Regions from separate parts of the Homo sapiens genome. Here all the other regions are linked to region 2. Evidence: promoter capture Hi-C in human tissues and cell types (Jung and others, 2019). All regions are on one chromosome and are shown on one strand. The core of a region is centred on a gene start or on the middle of the fragment in contact, and the rest is flanking DNA. Distances in the headings are between cores, read along the strand shown. Region 1 overlaps RSPRY1 (ring finger and SPRY domain containing 1). Region 2 holds the start of CCL22 (C-C motif chemokine ligand 22). Region 3 holds the start of POLR2C (RNA polymerase II subunit C). Region 4 overlaps CIAPIN1 (cytokine induced apoptosis inhibitor 1).

Region 1 (2,700 bases), core at 26-2,525, 130 kb after region 2:
TCTCTACAAATAATACAAAAATTAGCTGGGTGTGTTGGCATGCCTGTAGTCCCAGCTACTCAGGAGGCTGAGGTGGGAGGATCGCTTGAGCCTGGGAGATGGAGGTTGCAATGACCTGAGATTGTGCCACCACACTCCTGGGCAACAGAGTGAGACCCTGTCTCAAAAAATAAAAAATAAAAATTAAAAAAACAGAGATGAGAGAAGACTGAGGGAGAAGCAGTGGCTGTGAGTGGATGACTTGTAGCTGAGAGTGGGTATGTGGTGCTTCACTGTACTATTATTTTTTTCTTCTGTATGTATTTGAAATTTTCCATAATAAAAAGGTTAAAGAAAAAAAGAATGAATGGAAGAATTACAGACAGAGAGTATATACAACACAGAACAATTTATAAAATCCCAGTTAGTAGTAACAGGGCCATGAGCTCCTACCCTGATGCCAGAAAGGAGTAATATTCCAATGAATATAAAGTATCACTGAATATACATTTTTGGAACACAGGATGAAAATATTAATGGCACAGAAAATGGTCTCAAGTAAGTTCATACTTAATGCCACAATTTATAATTAAGCACAACTGGAATGTTAAGGGCAGCAAGGTGCAAGAAGGAGGTTGGCACTAAGGTGGCCACTCAGTTAGGCTCCTGACAACTATATCTTCTTGTTACTATCAGAGAAAACAGTCTAGAGACAGCATAGGATTGACCTAGCTTGGAATTCAGCTGTTCTTATTCAAGACAAGACGAACTTTGGGTACCAAATTTATATACATGGTTACCAAGAGAGTATGTATAAGCTGCCCATAAAATGAGACTTTCTGATAGTTGATGCCCATTGCCATCTGAGTTTGGGAAGGTTTAATTCTGCAGGAGCAGTTAACTAAATGCTGAAGCATTTTAACTATGTCCAGTCCCCATGGGAACTTAGATGGATCAATTGTCCCTTTTAGGGTATATGTGAGAAGACTTATTTGTGGGCTTCATCCAAGGAAAAGGCAGGCTAGATGAAAAAGAACGGGGTATGATAGATAAGGGAGAGGTGTCCCCTCAGACTTTGGCCAAGAGGAATTTAAAGTTCAGAATCTCTGTCAGGCACCAAGGATGAGCCTGAATGAAAAGTTCTAGGAATTAACCTCAGAACCCTGAGCGGGAACATATGCAACCCTTATGTTCTTGGGCTATTACTGAGGCTCTGCTGCCAGTGTTACCATCTGCAGACAACACTACCATCATCGTCCCATTTTCTAGTTCATCTGGAAACTATTGAACCACTGAGACAGTGATTCCAAGGTGAAGCACAGCCCAGAGCACTGCTTGCAGATCTGCTTTTTGAGCCAAAACAAGAGCTAGGATTACGTTACAGATATCTTCAGGGGCATACCAGTCCGACATTAGCTATGTCATGGCCAGTATGCTGGCCTTGGCTGCTGAGAGAGACTCTCTTACTGATATAAGATATGTGGTATTAGTAACAGGAATACCCTTTAAACAGGCAGCTGCTCTGTTTAAAATGATAAACTTTAGCTCACATTGTGAAACAAGCTTCAACTTGAAGTAATTACCAGGAAGCAGCTGGAGTCTTTCCCCAGCCTAAGGAATAGACTACATTCATCTCACAAGGAAGTAAAGCAGGCATTCATCTGATAAATTAATGCCAATCACAGTTTTTGTCAAATAAGGGCTGTAAAATTTTATGCAAGATGGTATTCACTGATGGTTGTGGAACAGTGTTGTCATCTTTGCCACACAGTTGAAACCACATAAAAAGTCTGTTTCAATAAAGCCGAGTCTGCTAAAAGATGTACTAGATTTCCTAATATTTAGGATTTTGACACTGACATTCACGTGAAGTTAGTTTGCAGTTTGTGTGCATGTGTCATATTTTTCTGATTTTTATACCAATCTTATTTATCTCACAAAAAAAATTTGAAAGTGTTCCGTCTTTCTGGGTTTGGTAACATTTTAAATAACAATAAGGTTATCTGTTACCTAAAGATTTGGTAGAGATCCCCTGTGAAACCACCTGGGTCTGGTGCTTTCTAGGGACAGATATATACAATAATTGGTTTGTGTATATTTCTTCTGCGATCTTAGAAATTTATATTTCCTGAAAAGTCATCCATTTTACTCAGGTTTTCAAAATTTATTTGTTATATTCTTTTAACGTTGATTATAAATTGTTTAATTTCTCATAAGATTCATGTGAAAGTCTGGAGATAGCCTGGGCAGATTCCTTACCTTGGCAAAATGATTTTTTCTTCAGCTGTTAGGAAGGCGTAGTCATTAAAAGTGCTAAATTTCATAGATGGTGGGTATTTGAATGGTTTTGCTCCAAAATTGAACTCACATTGTTGATATGACATGAAACTAGCTGCAGCAAAAAATCCAGATCTACAAATAAAATGAGTACAGAGGCCAATAGAATTAATAAAAATCAAAATAGAGTTAATAGATAGAACAGTTTTCAGAAAGGCAGGGTGAGTCAATCCTACCCTGGCAGAAAGGAAGAGTGACAGACTGTGTTTATAACCCACACAGGTCTGTGACTAGAGAATATTCTGCCTTATCTTCCTGTATCAAACTTTGGGATAGTTTTAGGTCTGATCAAATGGGTTCCCAATCACTTGAAATTAATCAATTTCTCATCACAATTGCATATATAAATGGACAAAGACTTTTTTTTTCCTAGAGAAAAGGGCA
Region 2 (2,700 bases), core at 134-2,633:
GCCCAATTTCCTCCTCTGACCAAAGGGGTAATAACAGTACCAGCTTCAGAGGGTCTTTAATGCATGAAAAGCACTCAGAAAGCCCAGCAGCTGGGAGCAATTCTTGTTTATAGCTGCCTGACCCCACTCCAGTGCTCACTCCTCCACCCAACACAGCAAAAGTATAGAGTGGGGTGGAGAAGAGGAGTCAGGAATCCATGCTGAGGACAGGTTCTGGACAAAAATGGATAGTGAGCCCAGAGCAGTGGCTCACGCCTGTAATCCTAACACTTAGGGAGGCCAAGATGGGAGTTTCACTTGAGGTCAGGAGTTCGAGACAAGACCGGTCAGCATGGTGAAACCCCATCTTTACTAAAAATACAAAAATTAGCCGGGCATGGTGGCAGGTGCCTGTAATCCCAGCTACTCAGGAGGCTGAGGCAGGAGAATCACTTTAACTCCAGAGGTGGAGGTTGCAGTGAGCTGAGATTGCGCCACTGCACTCCAGCCTGGGCAACAGAGACTCCATCTCAAAAAATAAATAAATAAAATGAAATAAAAAATAAATTTAGGCTAGACGCAGTGGCTCATGCCTGTAATCCCAGCACTTTGGGAGGCTGAGGTGGGAGGATCATCTGAGGTCAGGAGTTTGAGACCAGCCTGGCCAACATGGTGAAACCCTGTCTCCACTAAAAATACAAAAATTAGCCAGGTGTGGTGGTGCATGCCTGTAATCCCAGCTACTCAGGAGGCTGAGGCAGGAGAATCGCTTGAACCTGGGAGGTAGAGGTTGCAGTGGGCCAAGATTGCCCCACTGCACTCCATCCTGGGCAACAAGAGTGAAACTGTGTCTCAAAAAATAAAATAAAATAAAATAAAAAATAATAATAATAACATTTTAAAAAATGGATGGTGGGAGGGCAGCACCAGCTTTCCAAGGGAGAACCCCTTGCCCCAGCCCTGCCTTCCCCCACTCAGACCTGACCCTTAGAAGCTCCTCACCCACACCCCTAGGGCCCTATGCTTGAGTTTTCTGGGGCAGGAGATCCCGAGGCTATGCCCACCACAACCCCCAACCCAGGTGAGACAGATCCTAGACTCCAAGTCTTCAAGACTGCCCATTCAACAGACTTGTAAACTGAGGCCCAGAGAAGCACTGCAACTAGCCGAAGGCCGCAAGAGCCAACAGCAGACTGAGGTCTTCTGCTCTTGGTCCAGTGCTTGTCCAAGACATGAGGAAGACACCCCACCGTCTGCCCTGGCCTCTGTAGGGGGTCTTCCTGCTCCCCAGCCTCACCTGCCTCAGTTGCTTGAAGCGCCACAGCAAGGAGGACGAGGACAACCAGGAGTGCAGTCTGTAGGCGATCCATGCTCTGTCCTGTATGTCTCAGCCCAGGTGTCTGCAAAGGGACATAGGAAGACCTGCTATTTAAGGTGCTGGCTCCACCCACAAGCCTCACTTACTTACCTCTTAGTCACCGGGGTGCCCAGAGTCACTTGACATTCACATCTCAAAAGAAGAACTACCTCCCACTTCCTCCAAAGTGGAGAAATTCTCTTTGGCGGGGAACCACTCAGAGGGGACCCCCCCTCAACTCTGTCCTCGCCTCTGGTTTCAGACAGACTTGTAAAATCCCCCTCTTAGAGGCTTGTGCTCCCCAGGGTCTCTGCACTGTGTGGCCTTGGCCATGTCTGGGTGTCTCTGGGACTTGGTTTCCCCATCTGGAAATGGGGGAGATGGTTTCACAGCTCTGTTGACTTCACTGGTTGTAAATCAAGTGAGAACGTGGACCAACCCTCACCTAGAATTGAGGCCTGTCTTGTACCCTTAATGACGGCATTACTGGTCTCTCTTCAATGGGAGAGGCCTATGGACCCATTGACCCATCTGGGGCTTCTCGTGAAGTCCACATTTGGGCCAGGTCGTGGATTTCTCAACGGTTTATGGAAAGCATCTACCCACACTTCTGTCCTGCCTGATCTTCCTTCCCAGTGGCTGCCGGGCTCTCCCTCCCCCACTCCTGTCTCAGTCCCTCACCATGTCCATGTCCCGTTGATTCTGCTTCCTAAATCTCTCTCAGATCTGCTCCTTCTCTCCAACCCCACTGTTCCTGCCCAGTCCAGGCCACCTCCACCTCAGGCTGGGATGCTGGCCTCCTCAATGCCATCCCCACCCTGCAGCAGCCAGCGTGAGTGGTCCAGAGCTACACACTCTCTCTCCTGCTTCAGAACCCTGCCGTGGCTCCCCATTCACCTAAAGGCAGGTCCCGGGCTCCTGTCTGTGGCCTTCAAGGCCCCGTTTCCGGACAGGCCTTTCCCCACTGGTCTCCTTCCCCTGAGGGATCACACCACACTCCTCACACTTCCTCAAAAGGGACTGCGGCCTGTCCCTGGCCTTTAATGTCACTTTCCACATCTCTACCACATAAACTCCTACTTATGCGTCAAAGCTGTTTGAAATGTCATGTCCTTGGTAAGCACACCCTCTCAGGACTTCAAAGCCTTCTAGGGGACCTGGAATGTGGCCCTGAGCAGACTGGGTCAGGTTTTCTCTTTCTCAAGCCCCTCCCTAGAAGTCAGACTCCAAGCTCTAGGAGGCTGGGGTCTCCCTTCATTTTTCTTGGCATTCCCAGGGCCCTCTGAGGATCAGGCACATGTTGGGTGCTCAGAACACATGGGCTGGGTGCAGTGATTCATGACTGTAATCCCAGCACTTTGGAA
Region 3 (2,700 bases), core at 180-2,679, 100 kb before region 2:
GCCGAATGTTACAGATGAGGAAACTGCAGCACACAGAAGTTTAATAACTTGCCCAAGTTTCACAAAAGCAGTAAGTGATGCAGCCATAAGAACGAACGAAATCATGTCCTCTGCAGCAACATGGACGTGGCTGGAAGCCACTATCTTCTTTTTTATTTTCTTTTGTTTGAGAAGGAGTCTCACTCTATTGCCCAGGCCAGAGTGCAGTGGCATGATCTCGGCTCACTGCAACCTCCACCTTCTGGGTTCAATCAATTCTGCCTCAGCCTCCCCAGTAGCTGGGATTACAGGTGGGAGCCACCACACCTGGCTAATTTTTGCATTTTTAGTAGAGGCGGGCTTTCCCCATGTTGGCCAGGCTGGTCTCAAACTCCTGGCCTCAGGTGTTCCTCAGTCTTGGCCTCCCAAAGTGCTGGAATTACAGGCGCGAGCGCGGCCTGGAAGCCATTATCCTAAGAGAATTAACACAGGAACAGAAAACCAAACACCGCATGGGAGCTAAAACTGGGTACGCACGGACATAAAGATGACAATAAACACACTGGTGACTACTAGAGCTGGAAGGGAGGCAGTGGGGCTAGGGGTGAAAAACTACCTATTGCGTACTATGCTCACTACCTGGGTGAAAGGATCATTTATACCCCAAATCTCAGCATCACGCACTATACCCAGGCAACAAACCTGCACCAATGTACCCCTTGACTCCAAAATAAAAGTTGAAAACATTTTAAAAACTTTTGTAACAATAGTAGTGAAAACAGTATTTGAACCCAAGTCTGCACACTGCTAAACCCATGCTTCTCAGCAATGCATACCCAGGACAAGGGTGGACCTAAGTGGCCCGTGGGCGCCAGGGAGGCGGCCACTGAGCCAAGGGCACAGGGTATGGTCAAGTCTCCAGCAATGCACTTTTCTCAGCACTACCACCCTCAGCCCGAACCAAGGACTGGAAGGAGCCCCAAAGAGTGTGTGGGTGGAGAGCGGGGCAGGAACCCGTGGGCGCGGGAACGAGGAAGGGGAGTCGCTTACCTATTATGGGAACCTCAGCGATGAAGACCCTCCGAATCGAATTGGCCACCCTGAAAGATCAAAAGCCAAGGGGCGTGAAGGCGCTGCAGCCTCGACAGGCTGGGCCCGCGCCGCAGGCTCCCAAAGCTAAAGCCCTGGTGCAGGGGGGCAGCTCTGGAAGGACATCGCCCCCACCCCACCCCACTACACCCCCGCCCCCTGCCCCGGGGCCCCGGCTTGGGCCTCCCGGCGCCCCAGAGCCGCCAGCCTCTTCCCTCGGTAGCCTTACGCCAGGTCGGTGTTCTCGATGATGAACTTGACATTCTCGTCAGTGAGCTCCGTGATCCGCACGGTAGGCTGGTTGGCGTACGGCATCTCGCCCAGGGGCCACCAGCCTCCGCGTCTGCTCCGCGGTGACTGCGCGGCGCCACCGCCAACACCGGAAGTCAGTCAGCGAGGCCTCCGCGGCTTCCGCAAAGACGACTCACAGCGCCGCCTGCTGCTCGGAGGCCAGAACTGCCGAGCGTCTTCTGCGGCCTCCTGCTTTAAAATGTACCAGATTCAGCTATCTCGGAGGGTAGTTTGGCAAAACACGCATACGTCCTTCACTTAACAGTAACACTTCTAAGAATTCATACTGCAGAAACACTTGCAGTTGTAAACAAAGATACGAGTGCAGGGACGTTCGTGGTAGTACTGTTTGTACTGTCCATTGATAAGAGACCTGGTGGAGTATACACACATGGAATACTATGAAGCACTTAAAAAGAACTTGTACATCTATAGAAAAACAAAAGTATATTTTAATATGAATGTATATTTTAGCAAAGTATACCTGAATTATAAGTAAATACCCTTTCCCTTGCAGTCTCAAGTATGGACCATGCACTTCTGAAAACTTCAGGAAAAGATACAATGTTCTTTAACCTAATGCTTCCTCTACAGTCTGTGTAGCTGTGGTGGGTGAGTGGGAACTCTTTGTCTCTGCATCCCCAGTGCCTGGCAGTGGGCACCATGTGGGGTGCATGCTCAACAAAGAACTACTGAAGTCCCCTAAACAGACTGGAGAGAGGTTTAAATGGGCCTCAAAAAAAGTGGCTGCTGCTCCAACAGAGAAAAGCTCTAAAATAGAACGTGGCAGGAAATACATTTAAGAGTTGGGAGAAGAGTAACCAGATAAAGAGGAGTTTGCCTTTGCAAAGAGTGACACCTCTTCCTGAAACAGAGGGTGGGCACTGATGGAACCCTGCTCCATAACCTGTGTCATCTTGGTAAATTAAGAATTATGGTTGTCTGCTGAGTGTAAGATGGATGCTATGAAGGAAAAAGGAGAATGCAATGAAAACTGGAACAGCTACTGCGAAAACTTCACAGGATGTCAAGAGATACAAGGAATTGAGAGGTGCAAAAAAGATCCAGTGGAAGACCCACAAGAGATCTGAAATTCAATTAGTTGCTGACTTTCCCCCATTAATATTCAGCTGACAGGCAGAAGAGAGCAAAGCAGAAAACAGAGCTAACCAGACGTGCAAAGGGAACCCAGCCAGTGTAGAGGCTGAGAAAATTACTGGGGCTAAAGAATGTACCACTAAAATCGTCAGACAAGAGCAGCCAAGGGAGCTGATGGTCTGTGGGAAGGCTTCTGTTACCCGTATTTTACTGATGGGAAGACTTGAGCCCAGAGACGCAGAG
Region 4 (2,700 bases), core at 25-2,524, 75 kb before region 2:
AGGGGACACATATCCAAACTATATCAGACTCCTCATAAAAATTCACTTTACACCAAAGCATACAGAATATAAAGTGACATCCCACTTCTTGCTCACACTTCCCTCCCCAGAGGAAGCCACCAATGCCTTTTTGTATGTCCGTTCAGACCTTTTCCTATGTATTTACAAGCATCTACATGCACATACTTTTTTAAAAATGTAAATAAGATCATAAGTATACATTGTTCAATCACCTTTTTTCCCACCCTTAGATATCATAGACACTTACCTACTTCAGTGTATTTCCCTTCATTCATATTAATGATGTAATAGTATTCCATACAATAGATGGACTGTGATTTATGTAACCAGTCTATAATTATTGGACATAGAGGTGGCACCCTGACCCTTTTTTTCTACCTTTACTCTCTGCTACTTTATCCCAAGGAACATAGAAAGGATTTTCCTCCCCCTTTTTCTTTTGGGATATAAATTTCTGCTGTCTTCATTGTGGGCATTCTTTCCTGTTACACAGTAGGACCACATCTGGTTCATTTTCATAATTGTATTACATCCCAAATAACTAGTATATGCCTCATCCCTAATGTTTTTTAAGTACTTTTACATTTTCCAAGGGGTAGGCTCCAAGTAAACATGCAGACAAAGGTTATACTCTAGGGTTCTGATCAGTGAGAAACTGAATGTGAGGCATAAAGTGTTATCTGTTACCATCCACTGTTACATCCTTAATGCACAGAAATGAGTCTTTGACTCCTGTGTAGGTAGACATAGTAAACCATTTTACAGAGGAGGGTGAACTAATCCTTTTGATGTCTTGAATTCTAGCTGCAGCGGGAGCCCCTAACCCCTGAGGAAGTACAGTCTGTTCGAGAACACCTTGGTCATGAAAGTGACAACCTGCTGTTTGTTCAGATCACAGGCAAAAAACCAAACTTTGAAGTGGGTTCTTCTAGGCAGCTTAAGCTTTCCATCACCAAGAAGTCTTCTCCTTCAGGTAAGGCTGGCCTAGGGACATTCTTCTGTTTGAATGGGCTTAGAGGGACATGTTAGAAATTGAGCCAGCAATAAATGAGATGGTGATATTTTTAGAGGATTAGTCCTTTGATTTCTGCCATTTCCACAAAGAAGAATACTTAATGTACTATTATCATGGGCATATTAGGATCCAAAACTGAAATAATACATAGGTATTATCTAGTTCAGCTCCTTCTTCTGCACCAGAAGATACCGAGGCCTCCTAATTTTACAGGACTGAGTCACACAGTTTAATTAATGAGGTCCTTCCAGGTCCCAGAATTAACGTTTCTCCTCAGAAGACCTCACAGTGTAGTGGTAATGGTGTATGAGAGTGCCCTGTTCCTGTTCTCATGTGCTTTTTTCCCCATGCCAGGAAAATCAGCTGTTCTTACTTTGAGGATGCTAAGACACTTATAAAACTATATTTCTTCTGACTAGAAAATTGTGTACAAGCACACGCGTGCACGCACGCGCACGCACACACACACACACACACAGCTCCATCCTCATCCTTCCTATCCCTATTTTTAAATGCCTGAATTGACCCAGCTGTGAGGTATGCAGACATTAACAGATATTTACTGGTACATTCCCACTTGTACGGTTTTGACTGTCTAACCTAAATCTTCAAGAAATCCTTTGGAATCTAACCTTTCGATTCATGGTTCCAGAATGGGTAGGAATAGCTTAGAACAGTTGGCCTTGTGGAAGGTATGAGCATCCAGCTGTGACAATGATCACTAGAGGGTACTCTTACCCCAAGGGCCTGCGAGGATTTGCCCACACTGCATCCGAGCCTCAGCTCTCTGCCTCTTCCTTGCATTCTCCTGACTAGACAGAGAACCAGGAAGTGTGAGGTTTGTCTGCCACTGATGGTGTTACCTTGCCACCAGCAGCTCTAGAGCCTATTTTCTTGTATGTAGCAGGTTTACATGAGGCTAAAGCTCTGCTATTTTTGAAGGTTTTGACACATTTCTCATTTAATCCTCAAAACACCTGCAGTAACATAGGAAGTACAATTTAACTTCATGTTATAGAATGGAAACTAAGGTATCGAGGAGGAAGCAATATGGAATGGAGGTTAAAAGCATCAGACAGGCTTTGCAGCCTGTGGAACCAGCCTAAGTGTCTAAACCTGTTTCCTCAGCGGTAAAAGTAGGATGACAGATAGTTACCTCATAAGGTTGTCAGCAGAATTAAGTTAGATAATGTATATAAGTGCTTAATATGGTGCCTGGTGCAAAGCAAGAGCTTAGCAAATGGTGACTTCTGTAACTATCAGCAAGTGGTTGGCCCAAGGTCAGACCTCTCAGAGGGGTAGAGCTGGACTGTGAACCCACATCTTCTGCCTCCCAGGCCAGTGTGTTCTCTTCTACACAGCAGGAAGCATTTATGTATGTTTGTAATTAATAGTTTCTGACTGTGTTTATGGAGTTTTTTCTTTTATTGCTTGGACTCAGTGAAACCTGCTGTGGACCCTGCTGCTGCCAAGCTGTGGACCCTCTCAGCCAACGATATGGAGGACGACAGCATGGTGAGCTGGCAGCATTGTCACTTGATTGCTTTCTTTCAGGCCCCAGTTTGGGTGTGAACAGCTATAGTGACCTTTCTGGACTTGTAGGTGTGAACGTATTTAAAGCCCAGATTTGTGACTATGCCTGTCACATCTTTGATTTAGAAGGA

What was found. The method cuts DNA at HindIII sites, captures the fragments that hold promoters and counts their contacts. A contact is called where the count stands out against the background at its distance.
Region 1: a contact is called between a fragment that was not itself captured here and the fragment with the promoter of CCL22 in region 2, in 2 of the 25 tissues and cell types used here (IMR-90 fibroblasts and aorta).
Region 3: a contact is called between the fragment with the promoter of POLR2C here and the fragment with the promoter of CCL22 in region 2, in 2 of the 25 tissues and cell types used here (lymphoblastoid cells and mesenchymal stem cells).
Region 4: a contact is called between a fragment that was not itself captured here and the fragment with the promoter of CCL22 in region 2, in 4 of the 25 tissues and cell types used here (IMR-90 fibroblasts, lymphoblastoid cells, neural progenitor cells and 1 more).

The regions. Positions count from the first base shown.
Region 1 is chr16:57,230,858-57,233,557 of GRCh38, reverse strand. It overlaps RSPRY1 (ring finger and SPRY domain containing 1), which reads right to left. Exons shown (of 15, transcript NM_133368.3): 13 at 2,239-2,391. Among named protein-coding and RNA genes, the nearest start is that of ARL2BP, 13 kb to the left of the region's middle. The HindIII fragment of the contact is 8,140 bases long and covers 1-2,700 here.
Region 2 is chr16:57,357,466-57,360,165 of GRCh38, reverse strand. CCL22 (C-C motif chemokine ligand 22) reads right to left here and starts at 1,383. Exons shown (of 3, transcript NM_002990.5): 1 at 1,277-1,383. The coding sequence starts at 1,349. The HindIII fragment of the contact is 38,120 bases long and covers 1-2,700 here.
Region 3 is chr16:57,461,408-57,464,107 of GRCh38, reverse strand. POLR2C (RNA polymerase II subunit C) reads right to left here and starts at 1,429. Exons shown (of 9, transcript NM_032940.3): 1 at 1,298-1,429; 2 at 1,030-1,079. The coding sequence starts at 1,383. RefSeq lists an enhancer at 1,277-1,571. The HindIII fragment of the contact is 18,274 bases long and covers 1-2,700 here.
Region 4 is chr16:57,432,338-57,435,037 of GRCh38, reverse strand. It overlaps CIAPIN1 (cytokine induced apoptosis inhibitor 1), which reads left to right. Exons shown (of 9, transcript NM_020313.4): 5 at 826-994; 6 at 2,478-2,551. Among named protein-coding and RNA genes, the nearest start is that of CIAPIN1, 14 kb to the left of the region's middle. The HindIII fragment of the contact is 7,381 bases long and covers 1-2,700 here.